2 separate regions of the Homo sapiens genome follow, and region 2 is linked to region 1. Evidence: promoter capture Hi-C in 16 types of primary human blood cells and fetal thymus (Javierre and others, 2016). All regions are on one chromosome and are shown on one strand. The core of a region is centred on a gene start or on the middle of the fragment in contact, and the rest is flanking DNA. Distances in the headings are between cores, read along the strand shown.

Region 1 (7,157 bases), core at 2,727-5,226:
CTGGGCCCTGTGCGTACAGCTCCTGCTCAGCCTGGGGTCAGTCTTCCTCTGGGCCCTGCTGTGAGGGCCTTTCCCGCCCTCTCCCCCGCAGGCCTACCCTCTGTCCCTGTGCGTCACCAGCTGCTTGGTTTTGAAGAGCTGCCTCACTGAATTGCAGGAATTCTGGTGTGGCTTTTCAGCCATGAGATCAGGGGAAGGATGTGGCCAGGGCAGAGGTCGGGGCTTCCCTGTCAGGGAACATATCCCTGCTTAAACTCCTTGTCCTCTGGGCCCAGGCCCTCCAGCCCATGCCCCCCAACAACACCACTTTTTTCAGAGCTGGGCCTCAGAGACCAGGCCCCACCACTGGCTGCTTGGGACCTAGGGTCATAGAGAAACCGTGGCCCAGGGCGGGAGTCCCCAGCTCCATCCAGCTTGCCACTAACTTGCCGAGGAGCCAGGGCCAACCCCTCAGCTCTCTGGGCTACCTGAATCCAAGCAAGGAGGGAACGTGGTCCCAGGGGGCCCTGCTGGCCTCCCACACAGGATGAGGGCCTCCCTCTCAAGGTCAACAAACAGCCCTTTGCTGACCCACTCAGCGTCAGCACTCGGCTTCTTCCTCACCATTCCTGAGGCCGCCCACCTGCCACTCTGACCTCAGGCCTCTGCAACATCCTGCTGGCACCATGGCCTTGGGGAGGTGCTCCTGGGGCACGGGTGCCCCCCCAGGGACCAGAACCCACAGAGTGCCAGGCTCATGGCTCTTCTGGCAGAACTCTTGCCATGTGGCTCCAGGGAACATCTGAGTAGGGTTGTCAGAGAGCCTCTGGATGGTCACCAAGAGGCAGAGCTCCTGCGGCCACCAGCCATCCTGTGGTGTGGGCCAGGCCTGTCATTTCTGTGCCCTGGCTAGGGCTCCCATGATGCCCCGTGTCAGGGGTTAGACTGGTCTCCCCTGGTGGTGGGAGAAAGGGGCTCCTTCAGGACTGCACTCTGGACAGAAAGTCAGGGCTGGGCTCAGAATGGTCTGGGTGGACGGTCATCTCAGCCTGGAGTCAGGGCTGGGCTGAGAACGCCCTGGGTGGACGGTCGTCTCAGCCTGGAGTCAGGGCTGGGCTGAGAACGCCCTGGGTGGACGGCCGTCTCAGCCTGGAGTCAGGGCTGGGCTGAGAACGCCCTGGGTGGACGGCCGTCTCAGCCTGGAGTCAGGGCTGGGCTGAGAACGCCCTGGGTGGACGGCCGTCTCAGCCTGGAGTCAGGGCTGGGCTGAGAACGCCCTGGGTGGACGGCCGTCTCAGCCTGGAGTCAGGGCTGGGCTGAGAACGCCCTGGGTGGACGGCCGTCTCAGCCTGGAGTCAGGGCTGGGCTCAGAACAGTCTGGGTGGACGGCTATTGTCAGGGACCCCAAACAGAGGGACCGGCTGAAGCCATGGAAGAAGAACATAAATTGTGAAGATTTCATGGACATTTATTAGTTCCCCAAATTAATACTTTTATAATTTCTTATGCCTGTCTTTACTGCAATCTCTGAACATAAATTGTGAAGATTTCATGGACACTTATCACTTCCCCAATCAATACCCTTGTGATTTCCTATGCCTGTCTTTAATCTTTTAATCCCATCATCTTCGTAAGCTGAGGAGGATGTATATTGCCTCAGGACCCTGTGATGATTGTGTTAACTGCACAAATTGTTTGCAGAGCATGTGTGTTTGAACAATATGAAATCTGGGTACCTTGAAAAAAGAACAGGGTAACAGCAACGTTCAGGGAACAAGAGAGATCACCTTAAACTCTGGTTGCCTGTGAGCCAGGTGAAACAGAGCCATATTTCTCTTCTTTCAAAAGCAAATAGGAGAAATATCGCTGAATTCTTTTTCTCAGCAAGGAACATCCCTGAGAAAGAGAATGTATCCCTAAGGGGAGGCCTCTGAAATGTCTGCTTTGGGGACGGCTGCCTTTTACAGTTGTAGATAAGGGATGAAATAAGCCCCAGTCTCCCGCAGTGCTCCCAGGCTTATTAGGATGAGGAAATTCCCGCCTAATAAATTTTGGTCAGACTGGTTGTCTGCTCTCAAACCCTGTCTCCTGATAAGATGTTATCAATGACAATGTGTGCCCAAAACTTCATTAGCAATTTTAATTTCGCCCCGGTCCCGTGGTCCTGTGATCTCGCCCTGCCTCCGTTTGCCTTGTGATATCTTATTACCTTGTGAAGCATGTGATCTCTGTGACCCACATCCTATTTGTACACTCCCTCCCCTTCTGAAAATCACTAATAAAAATTTGCTGGTTTTACGGCTCAGGGGGCATCACGGAACCTGCCGACATGTGATGTCTCCCCCGGACGCCCAGCTTTGAAATTTCTCTCTTTTGTACTCTGTCCCTTTATTTCTCAGACTGGCCGACACTTAGGGAAAATAGAAAAGAACCTACATGAAATATCGGGGGTGAATTTCCCCCGATAGATGACCATCTCAGCCTGGGGTCAGGGCAGGGCTCAGAATGGTCTGGGTGGACGGCCGTCTCAGCCTGGAGTCAGGGCAGGGCTCAAGGTCTGGGTGAATGGCCATCTCAGCCTGGAGTCAGGGCTGGGCTCAGACGACCAGCAGTCTTTGACCTGCCATGCCGGGAGCCACATCTCGTGACCAGGTCCTGGCCTTCCACGCTGGCCAGACGCCTGCATCCAAGACGTCCTGGTCCCTCTGACTGCACAGTGTGACAGCCACCACCCAGCCATGCCCTGTACTCCTGGATGTGATTTGCTAATTAGGGTCAATGGGGTAAGATGCCCAATTAAATATGAATTTCAGATAAACAATTTTTAGCATAAGTATGTCCCAAACATTGGTAAAAATGACTATTTGTTGTTTATCTGAGATTCAGATCAAACTGGGCATCTTGGACATTTTATTTGCTCAACTAGAAATTCATGAGTGCCTAAGGAGCTCAAGGGACATTCCAGACCCCCCAAATCTGTGTCGGACACAGGGGCAGTCACAATGGGGTGCAGTGGTTGTACCTGGTGACTCAGGACATTCGTCTACCTCCTCATGTCCCCCCTGCCTCTAGCACCACAGTGTCATGCCCTACCCTCCAGGGGGCCCAGAAAGCAGTGCTTTTGCCCAGGGCCATTGTCCCCTAGATAGAGGGTTCAGCCCAAGGAGGGCAGCCCTGATTCCCAAGCCTCCTGCAGCACTGACTCTCCACTGCAGCAGGCCTGGGGTTTCTGGCCATGGCTCGCCTTTGGCTCACCTCTCCAGAAGGTCTCTGGAAGCTTCTTCCCCACAGGGTCCTCCCTTCCACTGTAACCTTCCCTGGTTCTGGGAAACAAACTTGAGAGGCCCAGGCGCACCCCACCTCTTCTCTTTAGGTCTCCACAGCTTTTCCTCTGCCTCGTCCCCAAGGGGATCACTCTGGCCTTTCCCCTCTCCAGTGACCCTCTCCACACCCTCCCGGCTTCCCCCTTCCTCTGAGCACCCCAGATGCCAAAGGACAAGGTGAGGGAGCCTTTGGAGAAATGTTGCCTGACGTCACTGGTCCCCCACGCTCGGGGGACCCACACGGCCCGCCCTGCAGGCAGCCCCCTCCCCGCAGGCAGCCCCCTCCCCGCAGGCCGCCCCCTCCCCACCTCACCTCACAGCTGCAGGGGTCGGGGCTCGGAAGTGCTGGGGGCAGTTCAGGTTGAAGGCTGGGCAGCGTGCACTTCTCCCCCAGCCTCCTGGGGCCCGGGCATCACCGGAAGCGGAGTTTGTTCCCACTTTGTATCAGTCGCAAAGAAAGAGCACCCAATTGGACAAAAGGCAAGCAGGCTGCGTTCCTGGCCCGGAGTGGAGAAGAGTGAGCCCCTGCCCTGTCAGGGAAGCTGAGGCTGGGGGTTGTGAGGAGTCCCGTGCCGGGAGGAGGCTGCAGGAGCGCCTCAATGCACCTCTTGATACCACGCATGCTTAGCAAGGCCTGGGGACTGTCCTCTCGGGCAGGACTTCCGCCTTGTAATGACATGTCGCTGATTTAAAGGGAACTGGGGGTCACCAGCTCTGGTTTGTGCAAGTCTGGTGCGTTCTTATCTCCCTTGTATTTGGCAGGGGATCCTAAACCTCTCCTGGTATGTTGAGACATCTGGAGCTCATTAAGCCTCGGCGCCTGTAGATAAAGAGATTAAAGGAAAAAAGAAAAGAAATCCCGCCCTGGGGCAGCTGGGGTAGGATTAGCCTGGAGGCCACGCCTCTGCAGGGTCTCCCATAGGCTGGGCCAGCCTCTGCCCTCCCTGCTTCCAGAACCCCGGACGCTGATGGCCTGTGGCGGCCACTCTCCGCCCACCCCGGAGCCCAGCCTAGCGGGGAGAAGGCCGCCGGCCCGTTCGAATGTCCCTCTGCTTCCAGGGTCAGCCTGCACGCCACTCTCACAGAGGCCAGACGGGCGGTGGGGCGGGGACTCAGTTCATCCTCTGCCTGAGGAGCAGGTCTCGGGTGCGACTGAGCTTTTCACCCTTTGAGAGGAGTCAGGGACACGCAGCGTCTCCAGCAAGCTGGTGGCAGAAACTGATGGAGCATCCTAATCACAAAATAGGAAGAGAGTTTGCAAAATAGGAGCATTTACCAGAAGCCTCTCTCTCTCCCTCCCTCCCTCCCTCCCTCTCTCTCTCTCTCCCTCTCTCTCTCTCTCTCTCTCTCTCTCTCTCTCTCTCTCTCTCTCTCTCTCTCTCTCTCTCTCTCTCTCTCTCTCTCTCCCTCCCTCCCTCTCTCCCTCTCTCTCTCCCTCCCTCCCTCTCTCTCTCCCTCCCTCCCTCTCTCCCTCCCTCCCTCTCTCTCTCTCTGTGTGTCTCTCAAGTAGAAGTGGGGTCTCTATGTTGCCCAGGCTGCTCTCGAACTCCGAGGCTCAAGCGATCCTCCTGCCTCAGCCTCCCAAAGTGCTGCGATTACAGGTGTGAACTACTGGGCCCAGCCCCAGGCCCTCTTACAGGAGTGGGCTGCCTAGAAACATTCCAGTGCCATATCCCACTCCACTCCGGGTGCAGGGACAGGACCCCTGCCACCCCCAACCCAGGCCCAAAAGGAGGGGCCAGGAGGGGAGGGGCCACCAAGGCAGGTGAGCTGCTTAAGAGGAGCGAGGGCTGTGGACAGTCCTGCGGACTGCAGGAGGGGCCAGCAGGATCAATATCCAGCTTCTCTCTCCTGCTGGGCTCCTGCTGGGGCTCCCTGTTGGTCACCCCAAAACCTACTGTCTCTCATCGCTGCCGGGGCTGGCCAGGCTCAGCTGCTGGTTCTGCCTTGGGGCACCTCCTAGGTGGAGTCAGGGTGGCTGAAGGCTTCCCCACTCATGCGTCCACTGTCTGGACATCCTGCCCCTGCCCGACCTCCAGGAGTTGCAGTGTGTGAAGGCCACACCACAGCCCCTCTCTGCTGCCTCCCTCATGTCTCCTCCAGAATGATGCTCTTAACCCCCTCATTAGAGGCCCCCATCCTTCCCAACTGTACCTCTTGACACCCTGAGTACAGTTCAAGAGACCCTGAAGAAACTCAGAAAAGTGACAACTGGAGGCTCTGGGAGAGAAGAGTGAAGTCACTCACATTTGTTTTTATTTACTTATTTTTTTTTTAGAGATGAGGTCTTGCTTTGTTGGCCAAGCTGGTCTCTTGAACTCCTGGCCTCAAATGATCCTCCCATCTTGGTCTCCCAAAGTGTTGAGATTACAGGTGTGAGCCATTCTCTCCGGCTTACTCTGCGTTTTACAGGATGGGATGTGTTGATGAAAGAAAGCCAAACTCTAAAATATTTGAAGAGGTTTATTCTGAGCCAAATGTGAGGACCATGACCTCACATGACAGAGACTCAGGAGGTTCGGGGAACATGTGCCCAAGGTGGCCGGGGTACAGCTCGATTTTATACCCTTTAGGGAGAAAGAAGTTACAGGATGAGATGGTTTGGATTTGTGTCCCCGCCCAGATCTCATGTGGAATTGGCGGAGGGGCCACGTGGGAGGTGATTGGATCGTGGGGTCAGACCTCCCCCTTGCTGTTCTGGTGATAGTGAGTGAGTTCTCAGGAGATCTGATGGTTTGAAAGTGTGACGTGTCCCCCTTCGCTATTTCTCCCTTGGGCTCAAGGGATCCACCTGCCTCGGCTTCCCAAAGTGTTGGGATTACAGGTGTGAGCCACTGCGCCCGGCTGAAGACTCTGTTGATCCTGATTTTTTCCCCATTGCTATTATGGCTGTTTTTCTCCTCTTCTTTTCTTGACTGGTCTCCCACAAGAATTATCCACATTTTTAAGGCTGGGCGTGGTGGCTCACACCTGTAATTCCAGCACTTTGGGAGGTTGAGGCAGGTGGATAATTTTAGGTCAGGAGTTTGAGACCAGCCTGGCCAACATGGTGAAACCTCATCTCTACAAAAAATAACAAATATTAGCCGGGCATGGTGCACAAGCCTGTAATCCCAGCTACTTGGGAGGCTGAAACACAAGAATTGCTTGAACCTGGGAGGCGGAGGTTGCAGTCAGCTGAGATTGCACCACTGCACTCCAGCCCTGGCAACAGAGTGAGACCCTGTCTCAAAAAAAAAAAAAAAAAAAAAAAAAAGCAAGAGTTATCAAAGTTTTTAGTTTATCCAAAGAAATAACTAACTTGTGTATCCTAATATGTACATAATTTCCATATTATTAATTTCTGATGTCACTTTTATTCGTTTCTTTCTTCCGTTTTTTTGGATTCCATTTGCTGTTCTTCCTGTAATTTCTTGTGATGAATGCTTCATTCATTAATGTTGAATCTTTTTTTTTTTTTGAGATGGAGTCTCTCTCTTGTCACCCAGGCTGGAGTGCAATGGCGCGATCTCGGCTCACTGCAACCTCCCGGGTTCCAGCTGCCCTCCCGTCCAGCTGCCCTCCCGGGTTCCAGCGATTCTCCTGTCTCAGCCTCCCAAGTAGCCGGGATCACAGGTGTGTGCCACTAGGCCCAGCTAATTTTTGTATTTTTAGTAGAGACAGGGTTTCACCCTGTTGGCCAGGCTGGTCTCCAACTCCTGACCTCCGGCCTTGGCCTCCCAAAGTGCTGGCATTACAGGCATGAGCCACCGTGCCTAGCCTGAATGTGTTTTTAATGTATGAAGGTAAGGGCCAGTGGGAAATCTTCCCTTTTAACCCCTGACATTTCCATGAAAACGCGACTCAGAAAAGGCA
Region 2 (7,157 bases), core at 1,597-4,096, 230 kb after region 1:
TCCCCACCCAAATCACATCTTGAATTCCCACATGTTGTGGGAGGTGCCTGGAGGGAGGTGATTGAATCATGGGGGCAGGTCTTTCCCATGCTGCTCTCATGATAGTGAATAAGTCTCATGAAATCTGGTGGTTTTAAAAATGGGAGTTTCCCTGCGCAAGGTCTTTCTCTTTGCCTGCTGCCATCCCTGTAAGACATGACTTGCTCCTCCTTGCCTTCTGCCATGATTATGAGCCCTTCCCAGCCACGTGGAACTGTAAGTCCATTAAACTTCTTTCTTTTGTAAATTGCCCAGTCTCTGGTATGCCTTCTAAGCAGCGTGAAAACACACTCATACATTCCCCCACCCTATTTCCATGCTGTCATGGTTGGAAGGAAGTCACTAAGTGCAGCCACATCTGAGGAGTGGCAATTTAAGCTCCACCTTTTCAAGCAAAGTATCTATGTAAATTATTTGGAATTCTTATGCAGAAGATTGGTCTTTTCTTTCCAATATCCTTCTTTCTTCAATCATTTATTGATATCATTATGGACTTGTAAACATTTATTTTATGCACAGGAGTATAATCCAATACTGTTATTTATTTTGCTGCTCAAATTGTTCCAGCTCTGGCCATTGGAAGGGTTTTCAGCTGCCTGATCTATTCCTTTCACAGTCCGCATCATTTTGGGTCTTTTTTTTAGGATTTTCTTCTTTTCTGGCCCCACATGGTCTTCCACAACCCAAATGTCCTTCAACTGATGAACCGATAGACAAATGTGCTCTATCCACATGGAGTACATTCCGTGGAATCAAGCACTGACATAGGCAACAAGGCAGTGAGCCTTGAGAACTTGGTGCTCAGGGACAGAAGCCAGACACAGAGGCCACATAGTATATGATCCCCTTTGCATGACAAGTGCAGAACAGACAAATTCACACGGAGGCAAAGTGAAGCAGGGGTTGCCAGGGGCTGGGAGCAGGGAAGCTGGCACTGACGGCTGATGGGCACAGGTTTCTTTTCGGAGTAAAAACATCCCAAAATTAGATTGTGGTGATGGTTGCACAACCCTGCAACTATGCAGTACTGAAACCACTGAACTGTTCACTTTAAATGGGTGAGTTTCATGAAATGAATTATATCTCAATAAAGAAGTTTGGTTTTGGTTTTGTTTTGTTTTTAAAGGTACTTTGGCTGGGCGCAGTGGCTCGCGCCTGTAATCCCAGCAATTTGGGAGGCCGAGGCAGGTGGATCACGAGGTCAGGAGATCGAGACCATCCTGGCTAACACGGTGAAACCCCATCTCTACTAAAAATACAAAAAATTATCTGGGCGTGGTGGCAGGCGCCTGTAGTCCCAGCTACTCGGGAGGCTGAGGCAGGAGAATGGCGTGAACCCGGGAGGCAGAGCTTGTAGTGAGCTGAGATCACGCCACTGCACTCCAGCCTGGGTGACAGAGCATGACTCCGTCTCAAAAAAAAAACAAAAAAAAACTACTTCAGGCTCATCTTGTGTTCCCGCATTCCATCCCTAGAATCAGCCCTTTCTCCAAGTAGTGCTCATTCCTGTGAGTGAAGAAGGATGTCAGGAGTCAAGATACGGGTGCTGGGTGGGCACTGCTGGTTGCTGGCTGGGTTTTGGGCCTCCCCATCCACCGCTAAGCCCACCCCAGAGCAGCCTTCTGTGCTGGTCAGCATTGCTGTCACTCTTTTTCTTCAGACAACCAATTGCAGGCTTGGAGAGATTGAGGGGCTGGCCCAACACCCCACAGCATGGGCATGAGTGGGGCTGAGACCTGAACTGGGGCTGGTGGGTGTAGATACCTTTCAAGGTGGCCCCATCTCTCCCTGCGGAAGGAACTGGGATTCCTTGCGTCCTCTCTCTGGTTCGAGCCCAGGCCGTGAACTCCCGAGTGACCCCACATTCCCCTGGCACAGGGGCCCTCATGGGGCACATGGGCACGGGAGCCCCACGCCAGCATCTGAGTCCCCAGCACAGCTCCTTTCCTGCGCTTGCTGCCGGCTTAGGGGCCTTAGTTGAAATCCTGACTCCTCCACCTGCACCCGGACTCAGTTTTCCCTGTGTGAATTGGGCAGGGAGGTGGCACTGGCTACACTCCCAGGATCCTCCTCTACTCGGACAAGCTCATGCCACTAGGGCACCACTTGGGCCTCACCCACTCTGGGCCAGTGACTGGGGGGCCCCAGAGGGCGTAAGGGGCCCTGGGCAGCCTCAAGGAGGTGTTGTGGGGCTCTGCAGGCATCAGGTGGAGGAGGAGTGGCCCGAGTGGGCCTTGAGCTGTGATCTATGAAGCGCTTCCTCACTGTGAGGCCAGGACAGGGATGCCCTCCGCCCATTGGTTAGAGGACAGGACAGGGATGCCCTCCGCCTGTTGGCTAGAGGACAGGACAGGGATGCCCTCCGCCATTGGCTAGAGGACAGGACAGGGATGCCCTCCGCCCATTGGCTAGAGGCTGCTATGAGGTGAATGCAGGTTTCCAGCTACCGAACTGGGCATGAAGAGAACAAGGTCCTGAAAATCTCTAGAGACTCAGTGTGGCTGGCATGTGCCCACTGCAATTCTGGGGCCTGGGTCTAATGCCCCTCCAGCCCCTGCCCCCTGCACTGGCTAGAGAGAGGCAAGGCTGAGAGAAAGGGAAGGATGGAAGGAGGGAAAAAGGGAGGGGTGGAGGGAAAGAAAGAGGGAGGAAAAGAGGGGGGGGTGGAGAGAGGGAAAGAGAGAGAGAAAGAGGGAGGGGTGGAGGGAGGCGTGAAGGGAAGGAAAGAAAAATGAGTGGTTGGAGGGGTGAAGGGAGGGAATAGGGTGGAGGAAGGGAAGGAGGAAGGAGGGCAGAGAAAACTGGAGGGTGGGAAAGAGAGAGGGGTGGAGGGAGGGCTGGAGGGAGGGAAGGGCTTTCAGAGGGAGGGAGCGGGAGCAGGACTCATCCACTGGTTCACTCAGAGGTCTAGGGCTCCTAACCGGGGTCCCAGGTCCCTTCCTGTAGGCGGGATCGAGCTCCTCCGGGCTGGCAGGTTCCTTGCTGGGATGTAGCTCCTGTGGAACCTCACCCGTGCCCCTGTTCCTTCACCTGCCCTGCTCATCCCTGAGTCCCCTCTCAGCCACCCTAGGGAGTTGAGTCTAATGCCAGGCTGGGGAGGCCCCATTAATTATGGCCCTGAGAGAAAGCCTGGGCTGTATTTGGAGAACACCTAGCTTATAAAAGACTCGGACTCGGCTTGTAAAATGCCTGATTAGCTTAAAGAGGAATGGCCCAAGCCTTCCCCCAGGCAGAGGAAGCCAGGGCAGCTGGCAGTAGGGCAGCTGGCAGTGGGCGGCAAGGCTTCATTCCAACGCCCACCCCCAGCCCAGCCCAGGGCAGCCCCTGCCCTCAGCTCTTCCCTCGGAGCCTTCCCTGAGAGCCCAGAAGGATGGCCCCTCTCCTATACGCCCACCTTGTGGGGGCTGCAGAATCTTGCTCCTAAAAGGCCTTTTGAGAAATCATTGAGTTGAGCATTTGTCAGAGCCTTCTGCTGAAGGAAAAACAGCTTTCACTCCCAAGAATATAGACGACAGTTTGAGAACTGTGCACGGGTGCACGTGGTGTGCACGGGGTAAAATCCAGCTGATGCCCATACTGAGTTTCTGGGATTCACTGTGCCCTGGTGTGCCATCTACACAAGCTAGTCCTCTCTCTCAAGTTCCCGCCTCTCTGTGCTTGTACTTCAAAATGCAGCCGAGCCCACCTGGCCTTCTCCAGGAAGCGGCGGCTGGCCCTGCACAGCCAGACTGCAAACTGCCATCCCACTGGTGTCATCTGGCTGTGACGATTTATGCTAATGTGTGTCCCACCACACACACACTCAGACTCATACACCCGCACACCCTCACACACACACTCATACACCCTCTCACACACGCTCACACTGTTTCTCACACACACACTTATGCACACACACATACTCTCACACTTAGTCACACTGTCACACACACATTCAGTCTCACATACATCCTCATACTAACACACACTCATACACTCACTGACACTTTCACACTCATATTCAATCTCACATACACACTCATACACATGAACTCATTTCTCACTCATACACTCATGCTATACTAACACACTCACACACATTCTCACACTCACTCTCACACTTATACACACACTCACATTCACTCACATATACACATGCACCACACTCGCATCCTCACACTCACACTTGCACACTCACATTCATACACTATGCTCACTCACACACACACACACTCGTTCACACTCATTCACATTCTCACACGCATACACTGACACTCACACTTTCACACACATACACTCACTGCACACACACTTTCACATTCACTCTCACACTCATATACATGCACTCATACACTCACACTAACACACTCAACTCTCACACTTACACTCATACACTGTCATTCACACACATATTCGTGCACACTTGTACACTCACACATAGCATCACACACACAGTCTTACACAGTCTCATTCACACACTCATTCACTCACATACACACAGTTATACACACGCACTCACACTCATACACTATACTAACACACTTACATCCACACACACCTTACACACACACTCACACACACTCATACACTTATTGTCATTCACACACTCATACACTCACACATCCCCATACACTCACACACACTCAAGCTCATACACTAACACACTCACATGCACTCATTCATTCACATACTTATACACATGCACTCACACTATACTAACACACACTCATATTCACACATTCTCACACTAACACTCATACACTCACTGTCATTCACACTCATACACACACTCATACACACACATGCTCATACACTAACTCAGTCTCACACTCTCATACACTCACACTCTCACAGTCTTACACTCACACACAGCCTCACACACAGTCACACTCACACAGGCACCCATCCGCCCCAGCCCCTGTCCTGCCTCTGCAGCGGAAGGGGCCCAGCCTTGTGCAGATTGGTTACTACTCAGGGCAGGTGGAGCCCAGCACCGGGGATCTCTCCCCAGCCCACTGCTGCTGCTGCTGCGACCCTGCCCCTTCTTTGCTTTCACAGACTCAGAGCCCTGTGGCACTGGGATGGGGGGAGGAAGGGCACATCACAGTCTGTGCCATCCACGGTGGCACTGGCAGCTCACCATGCCTTTCTTCCTGGGGCAGGGCCCTGCAGGGAAGCTGAAGAAATGCTCCCTGCCTCAAAGTACCCATAAGGGGCCTCCTGGCAGGTGTGTGTGGAGCCCCCTCCCCTCCCCTCAGAGGCTGTGTCAGGGCCTGCAACGCCCAGCTGTCCTGTTACACCACGGGTCTCGGTTCCTCCCACCGGCCCTGACCCTCAACCCCACCAAGGGGTGGATGAGGAAACCTTCCCAGGCCTGGGCTGAGGACTGAGGTTGTGTCTGCAAAGGTGCCCGCCCCAGAGTCCAGTCCCTGTCCCATGGCAGCTTTGCAGCTCACACGCTGCCATGACCCATGGCCAGGAAGCCGCTAAGCCCAGAGGTGACCTGGAGTGAGCGGAGCAAGAGGAGCTGAAAGGAAATGATCCTTCCTTTCCACTGGGGGTCAAGGCAATGGGAGCCCACATGCCATGTGTGTCCCCAGATATGTAAGTTTTCAAAGGAGCTAAAAAACAGTTAAAATAAAATACTGTTGACAAATATAACATCAACACCACAGGGAAAGCCTGGTGTTCATTCAAATTCCAGACTCCTTGGCCTTCATGCTGGGAGATGGCTGCAGAGAGAGCCAGTCCCAGCCCTGGAGCTTGCCTGCCCCACCCCCCGACATCCTGCATGGCCCCGACCTGGGCATCCAGCCCCACCTTCCAGCCTTGGGGTGGGTGCCCAGCAGCTTGGCCTAGCTTCCGAGGGTGGATGGAGAAGAGGGCCCTTGGGCTCTTGGGTCTGTGCAGAGGTCGGGAATGGGATTCAGGCCCTCAGGGGCACCTCTAGGGCACAGGTCCAGACAGAGGGGATACAGAGTGCTCCAGACAAGGCAATCTTGCTGATGGGGCAGCAGGGGAGAAGCGTGTTCAGGGTACAAGGGAAGGCCTGGGAAAGGCTGAAGGTGAGTGTAAGTGTCTCATGCAAGGGGTAGAGAGGACTGGAGCCAATCCCAGTGGGGAGGGCAGACAGGATGAGGAGGGGGAGGTGGAAGGAGACCAGAAGGGGAGCCATCCTGAAGCAGGGAGACATTGGGGGTTGGAGGAGAGACTCCCAGGGGATTTGAGCTTGTGAGCTGCTGCCCCTCAGCCTCCAGAACCCCAGAGAGACCCTGAGGATAGAAATGGGGCCAGCCCCACTGTAAACAGGCCATGTCCCGTGACCCTAGAATATCCCTGTCACCCCACAGTCCCCCAGGCCTGGCCTGGGGTTGGATGGGTAGTGATTCAGACATGGCCAGGCTGCCCTGTGCACCTTGGCTCTGCCACTGGCCCAAGCTAAGCCTACCCTAGACAGGCAACACCACCCCAAGGAGCCTGCACCATTCCAGGCCCCGCCCAGGCCTCCACAGCCAGCATTTCGACCGGATCCTAGGTGATTTGTGTGCACACTGAAGATTAAGAAGCACTGGCTCAAAGCTTCCAGCCTCCAGTGCCTCAGTTTCCCCATTAGAATGGGTTTGGTGACCCCTGCCTACCCTGGTGCAAGGGAGAGTGCAGAGGGGAGGGGGCCATAGATATTCAGAAGCACCAGGGATGAGGCTGTACCTACTCAGAAGCGGCGGGGAGGGGGCTGTACGTACTCAGAAGCGGCGGGGAGGGGCTGCACATACTCAGAAGCAGCGGGGAGGGGGCTGTACGTACTCACAAGTGCGCTGGGCAGTCCCCCCAGGCTGCAGAGGTAGAGCCATGACCCTCTGAGAACACCCAGGACAGGGCCCAAGCTGCAGGGAGTAGGGGCCCAGAGGCTCAGGACCAAGGGACAGCAGAGAGGGGGGCACAGGAGCCTTCTGAGAGTCCTGGAGGTGGGGCAGAGTGAGGCCTAGTGGCATGAGTCAGGCCGGCCCTGCTCTCCCCAGCGCATCTTCCGGCTAAATTACCAGGTCTGGCTCAGTCGCCGGCCACCATATAAAGGCGCCTTTGCACTGTGGCTCCCAGTCCCTGGCGGACAACCCCGCGATGAGGCTTCTCCTGGTGCT

The links. Contacts are between HindIII fragments. The CHiCAGO score rates a contact against its expected background, and 5 or more counts as called.
Region 2: a fragment that was not itself captured here is called in contact with the fragment with the promoter of LY6S-AS1 in region 1 in 3 of 17 cell types (naive CD8 T cells, total CD8 T cells and activated CD4 T cells); the score reaches 6.9 in naive CD8 T cells.

The regions. Positions count from the first base shown.
Region 1 is chr8:143,036,028-143,043,184 of GRCh38, reverse strand. It overlaps LY6S-AS1 (LY6S antisense RNA 1), which reads right to left and starts at 3,976. Exons shown (of 6, transcript NR_149322.1): 1 at 3,616-3,976; 2 at 98-227; 3 at 1-22. It overlaps LY6S (lymphocyte antigen 6 family member S), which reads left to right. Exons shown (of 4, transcript NM_001406478.1): 4 at 1-2,346. The coding sequence ends at 64. RefSeq lists enhancers at 4-579, 1,156-1,731, 3,753-4,304. The HindIII fragment of the contact is 8,465 bases long and covers 3,259-7,157 here.
Region 2 is chr8:142,806,123-142,813,279 of GRCh38, reverse strand. No RefSeq gene overlaps it. Among named protein-coding and RNA genes, the nearest start is that of LY6D, 23 kb to the right of the region's middle. The HindIII fragment of the contact is 7,507 bases long and covers 1-6,599 here.